Linked DNA regions of Homo sapiens: region 2 is linked to region 1. Evidence: promoter capture Hi-C in human tissues and cell types (Jung and others, 2019). All regions are on one chromosome and are shown on one strand. Each heading gives the region's core, a stretch centred on a gene start or on the middle of the fragment in contact. The rest is flanking DNA. Distances are from core to core; before and after follow the strand shown.

Region 1 (5,520 bases), core at 2,203-4,702:
AATGCTTAGAAAAGTTGAGGGTCAAAATATGGAGGTATACTCGATTTAAGTTCAGGACGTGGATCATTTTGTCTTACCTCTATTGGCATTTGATGAAAGGAATGTCAATCCCTTTCTATGTGACTCTGATCCTTACCTGGGTTCAAATTACTCTGAGTAAAATTATTATGAAAATATCTTAAAAGACTACATTTGAGGCAGTTCCTAAACATGTAAACTTACAAATAGCAAAGCATTTATAAACGATTAAAGTTTTTTTTTTTAAGAAGGGTGGATAATTCCTCTGTTGATAATAAGAAAATAACTTTTAATTTAGAAGTTTTTTAGGTATCATTTACTATGATGAAGAGGTATTCACTGGAGGAATATTATTTGCTTTCTAGGAACAAAATGTATTAGAATATGATGGAGAAGACTAACGAAAACGGGTGGCTGTGCTGACTCCTCACGACTTAGGAATGTTGATGGTCCCTGGTCTACACAATTTTGCTTTATTTCTGGTTTTCAAAACTTGTTCTTTCAGCAAAATATTAAGAATTCCTAGATTGGAATTACTTTTTTTTCTTTTTATTTATTCAACACTTTCAGATGATTTTTTAAAAAAGAATGATGTTTAATTTCCAGGAGAAATTGAATTGGTGGAAGAATAAGAAAAAACAACACTCTATGGGGCTTTGTTGTTGTTTGGTGTTAGCTGTTTATGTATTTTTTTTTTGTTTACCTGTTTATCCTGATGTTCTTACGGTGCAGTTGAAAAAATTCTTGGTGGAAAGACACAGTAAAAGTAAAAAAACATCTTGGGAGTGGGGGCTCGTTTCAGAACTAATCCAGGTCCTATGAAAAGGAAAACTAAGAAAAGTTTTAAATATTCGAAGTACTAATGAAGGGGCTGGGAAACAGGCAAATCCCTGCAATGCTAGAGGGTGGGAGAGTGAACTGGCAGAACCCACCAAGAAGGGAATCTGGCCATTTATATCCACAAACTTGAATCCAGAAATTTCACTTCTAGGTATCAAATGTTAGGAAGTAATAATAGACAGAGAAGGCATTTACAAGAATGCTCTTAGCAGCATCATTTATTTTTTAAAAAGGAAATAGCTATCTATCTGGAAAGGGCTGGTGGTGGTGTGATACATGGATAAGACAATAAGATATGGTAATCAAAATCACATTTGAATAATATTAAAGTTAAGGGAAAACATTGCACCTTCTATAATGCCAAGTGGAAAAATATCAGTATCCCAAAGTATCTCGAATTAGTAAAATATATTGAATTTATAACTGCACAGGGAAAAAAAGACTGGAAAGAAATAGATGAAAATGCTAACAGTATGGTAACGTGGAGTGATTCGAATTTTCTCTTTTTTGAAATTTTTTTTTCCAAAATTTCTAGGATGAGTATATGTTACTTATTAATGAAATGAATTCTATTTCCGAAAGCATGATTAAGAGAATTGTGTGTTCGCACAGGCTCCCGCCTATTTCTGTGTGCAATGAGGGGCGAAATAAAGTGTTGGAATAATCACTGGGGATTATCCTTTAGGATTACTGAATTTATGTTTAGGTTGGCATTATTCAATCGGGTTCCTCGCCTCAGTTACCCACTCCTTTCTGAAAGACCCCAGTTCTGGTACTAGCACGTCACCTAGAAGGAAGAATCCTGGAATGGCACGGGTCCAAACTAGAGGCGGCCTCTCAGCATGGACCCGCTTCAACCTCATCTGCATGGCAGGCGTTTTGCAAGGCGTCAGAAGGCATCTCCTCTTTGGACTTTTTGTCTCCCCTGGTAGTCTCTAGAAGCCATTAGAGTGAAAGCTATCTTTCCTACCTACAGCTAAAAATGTAAAAGTGAGCGCGCTCAGGCGGCCCTGCTCCTAGAAAGATCCAGGCCCCTTCATACCCCAACCCCTGGCCGGGGACAGTTGGTAGCGGTGGCTGGTGGCGAAGCTGCAGGGCGCCCAAGGCCCCCTGCGGCCCAGGAGTGACCCGAGTGCACTCGCCCCTTACTCTGGCCTGGGGCCTGAAGAAGGCACTGGAACACGGAAGCTGATGCTGCACTTTAGATGCAAAGCGTAGATTTGCACTCTGGCTAAGGCACTGAATGAACACCACTGTGGCCCTGGGACAAGGAGCTGTGGTCCGTCTGGGATCAACTAGGTGGCGAAGGGGAGGGAGAAAGGAAGAGAGAGGGCTTGCGCGCGGGAGAGAGGAAGGGACGGGAGGGAGAGGGAATGGAAGACAGGAAGGGTGTCCCTTCTCAGAGGTCGCACTTTGTCAGCAGTTCCTCTCGACTGCTCTGCCTTCCATTTTTCCTTTCCTCAGTTCCTGGACAAGCCTCGGAGGACCAGGCAGAACCCTCTGGCTAGCAGAAAAGCTCGCACCCCCGCACCCTTGCGGCGTCTGCTTCAGACCCTCCACGCAGGCGCCCGCTGGAGCGCCTGCTGGGGATGGCGTACCACCGACCCTTCAGGCTTTTTAAAAACGTAAGAATTTCTACTTTATTATCTCTATGAAAAAAAAAATGTAAAGAAGAGAGGTTAGATTTTATAGAAGCTCCAAAGTCTGCCATTTGCGAGGAGGGTTCACTTCCCACCCACCCAGCCCACGGAAGCTCTTAGGAGCAGCCTGAACGGCCCCGACTCAGCCTCACGCTCTCTGACTTCCCCGCTCGCCCCTGACCCCGACTTCACTTAGGGCGGTCGCGTAGATATGAACTCTACAGCAGCCACTCTGCTCAGCGCATGTGGGGATCTTACAATCTCGACCCCGACCTCCAGAAGACCAGACGTTCTGTCTTGGGGCCTCCCTCCCGGCCCTTTAGCCTCACCCAGTGCCCGGTCCTGACACACCCCAGCACTACCAGACGAGGAAGGGCAGACTCTCCACACCAGGCTCAGCCGCTTTCCTTCTTCTCACAGCTCTCCAAGAGCTCGGTCATGAAGGAGATATAGACGATGGCCAGGCGGAGGGTCTCGATCCGGGACAGCCTTTTCTCGTAAGCAAACGTGGGCACCTTCCTCCGCAGCTGGTCAAAGGCCTCGTTGAGGTTGAACATCCGCTTCCTTTCGCGGATGTTGGCGGCCTGGCGCTGGGCGTAGGTGATCACCCTTTTCCTCTTGGGGCGGCCTAATAGGGAGACACCTCTTCCGCGCTCCTCTTCCTCCTCCTCTTCTCCGTCCCCCTGGTCCACTTCGCACTCCTCTTCTTCTGGGTCCCCCTCTTCAAACCGCGCCATCCTCCTGGGTCTTCCCTCTCGGAGCGCAAGGGCTGGGTCCCCCAAGGAGACCCCGGGTGCGAAGTCGCAGAGGAGAGGGCGTCTCGGGGAGGCCAGGGACAGGTCTGCGACGAAGTCCAGCACCGTAGTGTCCACGCAGCTCTCCGGATAGGCCGCCATCGCTTCGGCTTGGCCCTGCCTCTCATCGGTTTTCCGCAGGGAGGGGCGAGGTTGCTGGTGGGGATTCTTAACAGCCTTGAATCTGATGGGGCACCATCACCGAAAGGCCAGGGAACATTAAATATTTATAACCAAGCTGATAACAGGATTAGTCGCACCGATAAGGAATGCTCTGACAACGTCCCTTCTCTCGAAGCTTATGGAAGATGACAAGCTTGAGCACGCATGGAAGACTCAAAGGGACAGGGCTCCAGTTCTGAGATCCTTTTCTCTGCGCCACCCGGGACAGTTCCTTGTTGGCAACAACCCCCAGCTCTTACCTGCTGTGCTTTTTGTGTCTGTCTTCACCCCTGCAGCCAACTAATGTTCTCCAGGCTCCTTATCTCGTGTAGTTCTTTAATTTCGTGTTGGATTTTCAAAGCGAGGATGTTTTCCACCGCGATGGCTTCTCCTTGACTTCAGGGTAGGAGTCTTGAATCTTGCCACCATCTGCCAATGGATGTGGAGCAAGTGCATGTGCTTTTAATGATGTCCTGAAGAGGGGCCCTGCCTGCCTGGCATCAAGGGGAGCTGTTTGTCTGGTATCCCAGTGCAGCGGCTGCTGAAAGGCAAGACCTTCAATTAGCTTAAGTAAGCATGGCAGGGGGACCGAGAGTGCATTCCCCAGAGTCGCTGTTGGAACCGGCTTTCTTTTCTTTCCAGGGCATCGCAAACAGCTCTCCTGCCACGTTACAAACCCTGACTTCTAAAGTCTGTTTGGATGCAATCAGCGTAACAATTGAGATACTTGACTTTCCTTTCCCTACCTTTACCTCCTACTCATATAAAATAGAGGATTTTATTCCAAGAGGAAAAGTTATGATGGCAATAAAATGAGAAATTTAAGCTCAGGATATTTTCTATGCTCGGGCTTTGCTGTATACTTTTCAGTGTGGGGGACAAAGCAAACTCTCCTCACAAACAAAACCACTTCAAGCTCTTTTCAGAAATGCGATTTGCCCTTGATAAGCCAAAGAGTCAATCAGCTCACCCTCTGCTGAGGAGTCTTCGGACTTTTAAATTGCGGATCGAGTATTTGTTCCCGAACAAAGAAAAAAACCTAACACTTCCATCTGGCGTATTTTCCTCATTGATTTGTATTGTCCTACAGTAAGACTTAAGTGCAGAAACAATGATTTATTGAAATATATTTAAGGGAGTTTTTGGCTATCGTTAGATCGTTATTTTTGAGAAAAGAAAGAGATTTTAAATTTGGCATAAGAAAAATAAGAGATTACTCATTTTATATTATCTCGAGTATCCCAAATATTTTAACAAAAAGGTTCTTTTTCTTTGTTTGCCAATAACTATATTTACTTAATTATTCAGTACTGTGTAAAGATTTATTTAAAAGACCCATTGTGTCAAAGTGACAGATTAGAAGATAATTTTAAAGGTAGATTGGAAGAAATAGCCTAAAAAGATGAATGTAGAAACATCCCGGTTCAAAAGAGAACTGCCCAGGACGTCAGTCCCTATTAAGGGGGTAAGTTGTGGTTATGATGGTTCACTCAGTACATTGGACAGCTCCCAGAAACCAGAAACCGCCTATTTCTAACAGGTAATCTCAATTCATTTTCTTCTTCCTAGCCTCTATGTGTGTAATCAAAACAGTATAACCTTTAATTCTTCTTCTTCTTTTAACCCATTTGTGTCTGGTGTCTCTCGATCTTTTAATAGATTTTATCTTCTTTTGCTTGTGTTTACTCTTCATTCTCCAGTTTGAATTGTGATAACTCAGGCAGAGAATAATTGAAATTTGTGATCCTGGAAGATGTTAAAGAGAATGAGATCTTTGGTTGTTACTTAGTTGATTTTTGCTAAGCATCTTTCAAAGGGAAGGCTGAAAAATAAATAATAGGATTGTCAACAGTGGCTATGAAGCTAGTAAATGGGAGAACTGATTTTTGTTTCAAAAAAGTAGTAACATGCTTGCTAACCCTCGTTTAAATTAATATGTTATTAAATATTTGGACAAATTTCTTGTTGATTTTTAAATTATGTTAAATGCTTCTCAGTGACTTATTTTGTATTCATTTACAATCTATTTGCAAGTGGATTAAACACCTCAGTCAATTGAGAATCTA
Region 2 (5,520 bases), core at 1,092-3,591, 260 kb after region 1:
TTTTCAAACTGGCATTTGATTGTTAAGTTTTCCTCAAGAGATTCTCATTTTGATGATTTCTAGTTTTCTTGAAAATGCTCTTTTTTCATAAAATCATTTTAACTGAGGGCTGAGCTTTCACCCTGACTTAGTATGGTGACCTGAGGTTGAGAGGGATTATATATTCAGGACTGAAATTATAACCTGAGCAATAAATATCATATAGAAATTCTACCCACGTTTCACTTCTAAAGCTCGTAGCAGACTTATCTAATTGATTAGGGAACTAGACATAGCTTGAGAATCTTCCACAAGTCCTTGTTCAAGGCAGCCACCATTAAGTTCTTGGTTCAAATGATGAAATCTATTTGGCATTCCACATTAGATTTATATTCTAAGCTTTAATATCTACTCTTTCTCTTCTCTTCATTGGAGATGATAACATTTACTTACTGCTTCACTGACATAAGAACCAGCCCTCGAGAAGAATATACAGAGGTATAGTGCAACTTTTTCTTCTAAAGCTATTGAACTATGGTAAACATCCTATGACTAAAAGAGACTTTAACAGAATTTCCCTAAGAGATTATAATCTTTTATTTATTTATTTTTTGAGATAGGGGCTTGCTGTGTCATCTAGGCTAGAGTGCAGTGCAGTAGCACAATCTTGGCTCACTGCAGCTTTGACTTCCCGGGCTCAAGCAGTCCTCCCACTTTAGCCTCCCAAGTAGCTAGGACCACATGTGCTTGCCACCAGGCCCAGCTAATTTTTATATTTTTTGTAGAGACAGGGTTTCCTCATGTTTCCCAGACTGGTCTTGAACCCTGGTCTCAATCCTGCCTGCGTCAGCCTCCTAAAATGCTGGGATTACAGGCATGAGCCACCACGCCTGGCCTATAATCTGTTTTATTTCTAAGTCACCGTTGCTCATCCTACGTTCATTCTTACAAAATGAGTTAACTATATTATTGAGTTAATCCAAAATGGAATTTTTTTATTTTTTATTTTTTTTTTTGAGATGGAGTCTCGCTCTGTTGCCCAGGCTGGAGTGCAGTGGCACCATCTCGGCTCACTGCAAGCTCTGCCTCCTGGGTTCATGCCATTCACCTGCGTCAGCCTCCCGAGTAGCTGGGATTACAGGCGTCCACCGCCAAGCCCAGCTAATTTTTTCTTTTTTTTTTTTAGTAGAGACGGGGTTTCACCGTGTTAGCCAGGATGCTCTCGATCTCCTGACCTCCTGATCCGCCCGCCTCGGCCTCCCAAAGTGCTAGGATTACAGGCGTGAGCCACCGTGCCCAGCCCAAAATGGAAATTTTTAGGAAGTTAGGTTTTGCTTGTGAAAGTGATCATACGCTGTCCTACCACTATCATTTTACTGTGGGTGCAGGAAAAGAAGAAATAAGATTTGCTCCTTAATAGATAAGCTTGGTGTTATTGACTTTAAAATGAAAATTATCCTTAAAAACCTTAAAAATCACAGCTTGCTAAATATTAGTAACTAATGCACTCACTGCTCTCTTTATATATATTTTTCAAAATGTAAAGAATTTGCTACTTAACTTTCAGCTTTATTTGAAAACTAATTTTCAACTCAGAAAACCTGTGGGTTTTGTACATTTTCAGTATAAGAGAATGGGTACTAAGTTACAGTTAGAGGCTTTAAATAAGTGGAGATTCCCATTTTGAGTGGGTGTGAGGGCACATCTGCAAATTGTAGTCCTGATTCAACTTCAGTCTGTGTTTTCCTCAGTGTGACTCATTCAGTCATCACCCAGGCTGTGTGATTACTGACTCCGAAGTATGTGAAACACTCAAACAGTTGGGATTCCTTTTGGAGCATATACAAACAACTTAAATCTTCCAATTCAGATTATGTGGTTGGGCTTAAGACCGTTATGAAGGCGGGGAGGAAAAACCTGAAGGCTGTTTGTGGCTACAGGGTGTGGTGTTGTGGGGTTGGTGGCAGAGATCTGTGGTGTTAGTTAATACAGGAAGATACTCAAGTTACATTCAGTGTAACATACCAAACTTGCAAATTCTGTCTCCCTCCCTCTCTTTCTTTCAGGAGTAGTTGCCAGCAACCTTCCTGCCAACTTGGCCCAAGGTAGGTTACTTTAGGTACACTAGAAAACCAATTTCTCTGCAGTTTTTCATCCTTATCAAACTCACCTAAAGTCTAAAGAAAAACTCTTTCTGATTATAGATATTTGTTTCAATCAGTTTTATAGGAACGGCAGTCTCTGCTCATCTCTCCTTCCTGAAATTCTAGAACTCTTTAAACACAATTGCCACAAAATTGCCATGGAAGGAAACCTTTCATCACTTTTTAAATTATTGTCTCCATTTTTCAATTCTTTGGATGTTAAAAATTGGGATATAATTTGCATACCATGATATTCACTGTTTTAAAGTGTACATGTCAGTGGTTTTTAGCTTTTATTCACAGAGTTGTGCAACCATTATCATTATCTCATTCCAGAACATGTTCGTCACCCAGAAAAGAAACCCCATACCCGTTAGCCATCACTTCCCATTCTTCCCTCTTTCTAGCTCCTGGCAACTCCTAATCTATTTTCTGTCTTTATGGATATGCCTATTCTGGACATTTCATATAATTGGAAATAAAATGTGTGGCCATTTGTGACTGGCTTCTTTCACTAGGCATAATATTTTCAAGATTCATCTATGGGTGAATAATTTTCTATTTTATGGATATACCACATTTTATTTATCCATTTATTGTTTGATGGACATCTGATCAGGAAATGAATTCCTTCCTCTTTTCTTCTTTTCTTATTTCTCTCATTTTGCTTCATATTATTCCAGTTTTTGTTAACTTTGTGATATTTGTTACAGGTTATTTGATTCCACATATGGAAAATCCTAGTCTTGCTTTCTGAACTAAAGCTCTCAAACTTTAATGTGCATACAACCACATAGGGCTCTTTTTAAAATGCAGACTCTTTAATAAGACAGGATGTGAAGCCTGTGATTCTGCATTTCTAATGAGTTCCCAGGTAAAGCTGATCCTGTTGATTTGTATATTACCCCTTGGACATCAAGGATTCCAACTATGCATTCCACTGAAGGAAAATGTTCTAATTATCATTGTTAATGCCAGGCACCCTTGTAGATGTTTTCACAAATTTTAAGTTTATCTGAATATTTTATTAATAGCTATTGAATACCTGACAGAGACCGTATAGCCCACAACGCCTAATATGTGGACTATTGAGCCCTTTATAAAAAAATTTGCTGACCCATGGTTTAAAGACATACTATATTGTGAAACAATTTAAATCAATCTACGTAGGCAAATCTATGTACAGCTTAAGAAATTAGGGATTAGAACTGGAGTAATTTAGCACTGTTGATGATCAAGAACATTTCATATGTATCACTTTTTCATGATGATACAACTGAAAAATAAAAGTGAAGTCAATATTTTTAACCATTTGAACGTGTAAAGTTTGGCTTGAATCCAACTCTGTAAATTCTGTGGATGTACCCAAGCAGCTGAAGGAGGCTGGAAAATAAAGACAAAAATAGTCACACTTTAATTTTATGATTAGCAAACTCAGCTGGACTGTTAATGAAGTATAGCAATTATTTCCCTAACCCATTTCCATCCCTACCCTTCTAGATGACTCTCCATGCTTTTTCTTCTCCATCCAAACCCCCAACACCTCATCTCCCATTCTCAATCTTAACTGATGACCCCTTCCTTTCTACTAAGGAAATAAAATCTATCAGAAGAGAATTTCCATTTGTTCCACCACTACGTCCTTCTCCACCTGCATCTTGGCCTCTACTCTGGTTTTCCTATTTCACTAGATAAATTGTGCTCTTGACAAAGGCCAAATCTATCACTTGTGCACTATATCCCAACCTCTCTGACTTACTCCGGAACATCGTGACAGCATTTCTGTTTTGCTCCTGTATCATCAAGTTTAGCTTTTCTACTAGATTTTTTCTATCAGCATACTAACATGTTTTTTTTTTTTTGTCTTAAAAAAAACTAAAATTTCCTGACACATCCCTCTTTGAGCATCTCTTTCTCTCCTTACTTTGATAGGAAATGTACTTGAAAGAGCTTTCTATACTTAGTCTACAGCTTTCCATCCATTTTCTCTCTAGTTTACCCTAACGGAGCTTTAATTCTTCCACTTCCCCTGAAACTGCTCTTACTAAGGCCGCCACTGACCTCACCATTAACATTTCTGGTGGTTATTCTCAATACTGATTTTGTCATTGTCGTGAAACACTCGTTTTATAACATATGTATCTCTGGCTAAGACCCACACTCTTCAATTACTGTAGCCATTTTCTCTTCACTCCCTTTTGCTATTTCCTTCTCATCTCTGAAGCCTAATCATGGGTCCTCCTCCTTTCTCTATCTACACTAAATCCCTTATTAAATCATTGCTAAGGGATGTAATACCACATGTATGCCTACAGCTTCAGGATTTGTATCTCCATCCTAAACTTCTCTCCTGAACTCTGAAATCTTAAATCCTACTACTCCCACACCATCTTCCTTTGGATGTAAAATGGGCATCTCTCAAACTTAATGTGCCTACAAGTAAATTATTAACATTTTCCATCACTCCAAATCGTCTTCTCCTTATGTCTTACTCAGCTCTGCCAATGGTAATTTTATTTTTACAGTTGCTTAGACCAAAACTATTGGGATCATTCCCGATTCCTCTTTCTTTCATACCTCATATCAAATCCATCAAGACATCTTGTCAGCAGTTTACTTAAAATACATCTGGAACCCAATCACATTTCTTCATTTCTACAGCCGCCATCCTAGTCTGATCCACCATCATCTCTCACCTGGATTATTGTAATAGCCTCATCGTGGGTCTCCCTGCTTTCTGCTCCTGATTTCCTTTCCTATTTTCACTAGAGCAGCCAGCGATTCCTAGAATACCACATCATTTTATACATTCTTCAGTAACTCTTCATTTCACAAAGAGTAAAAGCCAATGTGTTTCCAATGGACCACAGGGAACTACAAACTGTTCCTATGATTTTATTCCTTATCTTTCTCTCCTTGCTTGTTCTGCCTCAGCAGCCTTGGCCTCTGCTTTTTTCACAAACCTGCCAGGCACATCTATGCCTTGAAGCCTTTGTGCTCTCAGTTCTGTTCCCCTGGAGAACCCTCCAGATTTTCACATGGCTCATTCCTTCATTGTCTTCAGGTCTCAATTCCTTCTCTGTTAGGCCATCCTCCCTCATCTCTCTTCTTTGATTTGATGTTCTCCAAAACACTTAGGCACCCCAACCAGACAATATCTACCTGCTTACTCTGGTTATTGAGTCTGTTGTCTTAAAACGTAACCTCAGTGAGAGTAGAGATTTCTATATTTTGTTTACTGTTATATTCCCAACTCTTGCATCGGGCACATAGTTGGTGTCAATACTATGTGATGAATGGATAATTTCCAAACTAAGTAAAGATTGGTTTTGTTCCTGTGAGCATACAACTAAAGGCTTAAAACCTTCAACTTCTAGACAAGAGTTCCTCTGTCTAG

The links. The method cuts DNA at HindIII sites, captures the fragments that hold promoters and counts their contacts. A contact is called where the count stands out against the background at its distance.
Region 2: a fragment that was not itself captured here is called in contact with the fragment with the promoter of FERD3L in region 1 in 2 of the 25 tissues and cell types used here (H1 embryonic stem cells and mesenchymal stem cells).

The regions. Positions count from the first base shown.
Region 1 is chr7:19,141,969-19,147,488 of GRCh38, forward strand. It overlaps FERD3L (Fer3 like bHLH transcription factor), which reads right to left and starts at 3,453. Exons shown (of 1, transcript NM_152898.2): 1 at 2,814-3,453. The coding sequence starts at 3,394. The coding sequence ends at 2,894. RefSeq lists enhancers at 2,186-3,385, 3,851-4,499. The HindIII fragment of the contact is 11,409 bases long and covers 1-5,520 here.
Region 2 is chr7:19,403,287-19,408,806 of GRCh38, forward strand. LOC105375179 (a long non-coding RNA gene) reads left to right here. Exons shown (of 6, transcript XR_007060244.1): 5 at 415-477; 6 at 2,046-2,617. Among named protein-coding and RNA genes, the nearest start is that of FERD3L, 260 kb to the left of the region's middle. The HindIII fragment of the contact is 4,859 bases long and covers 1-4,771 here.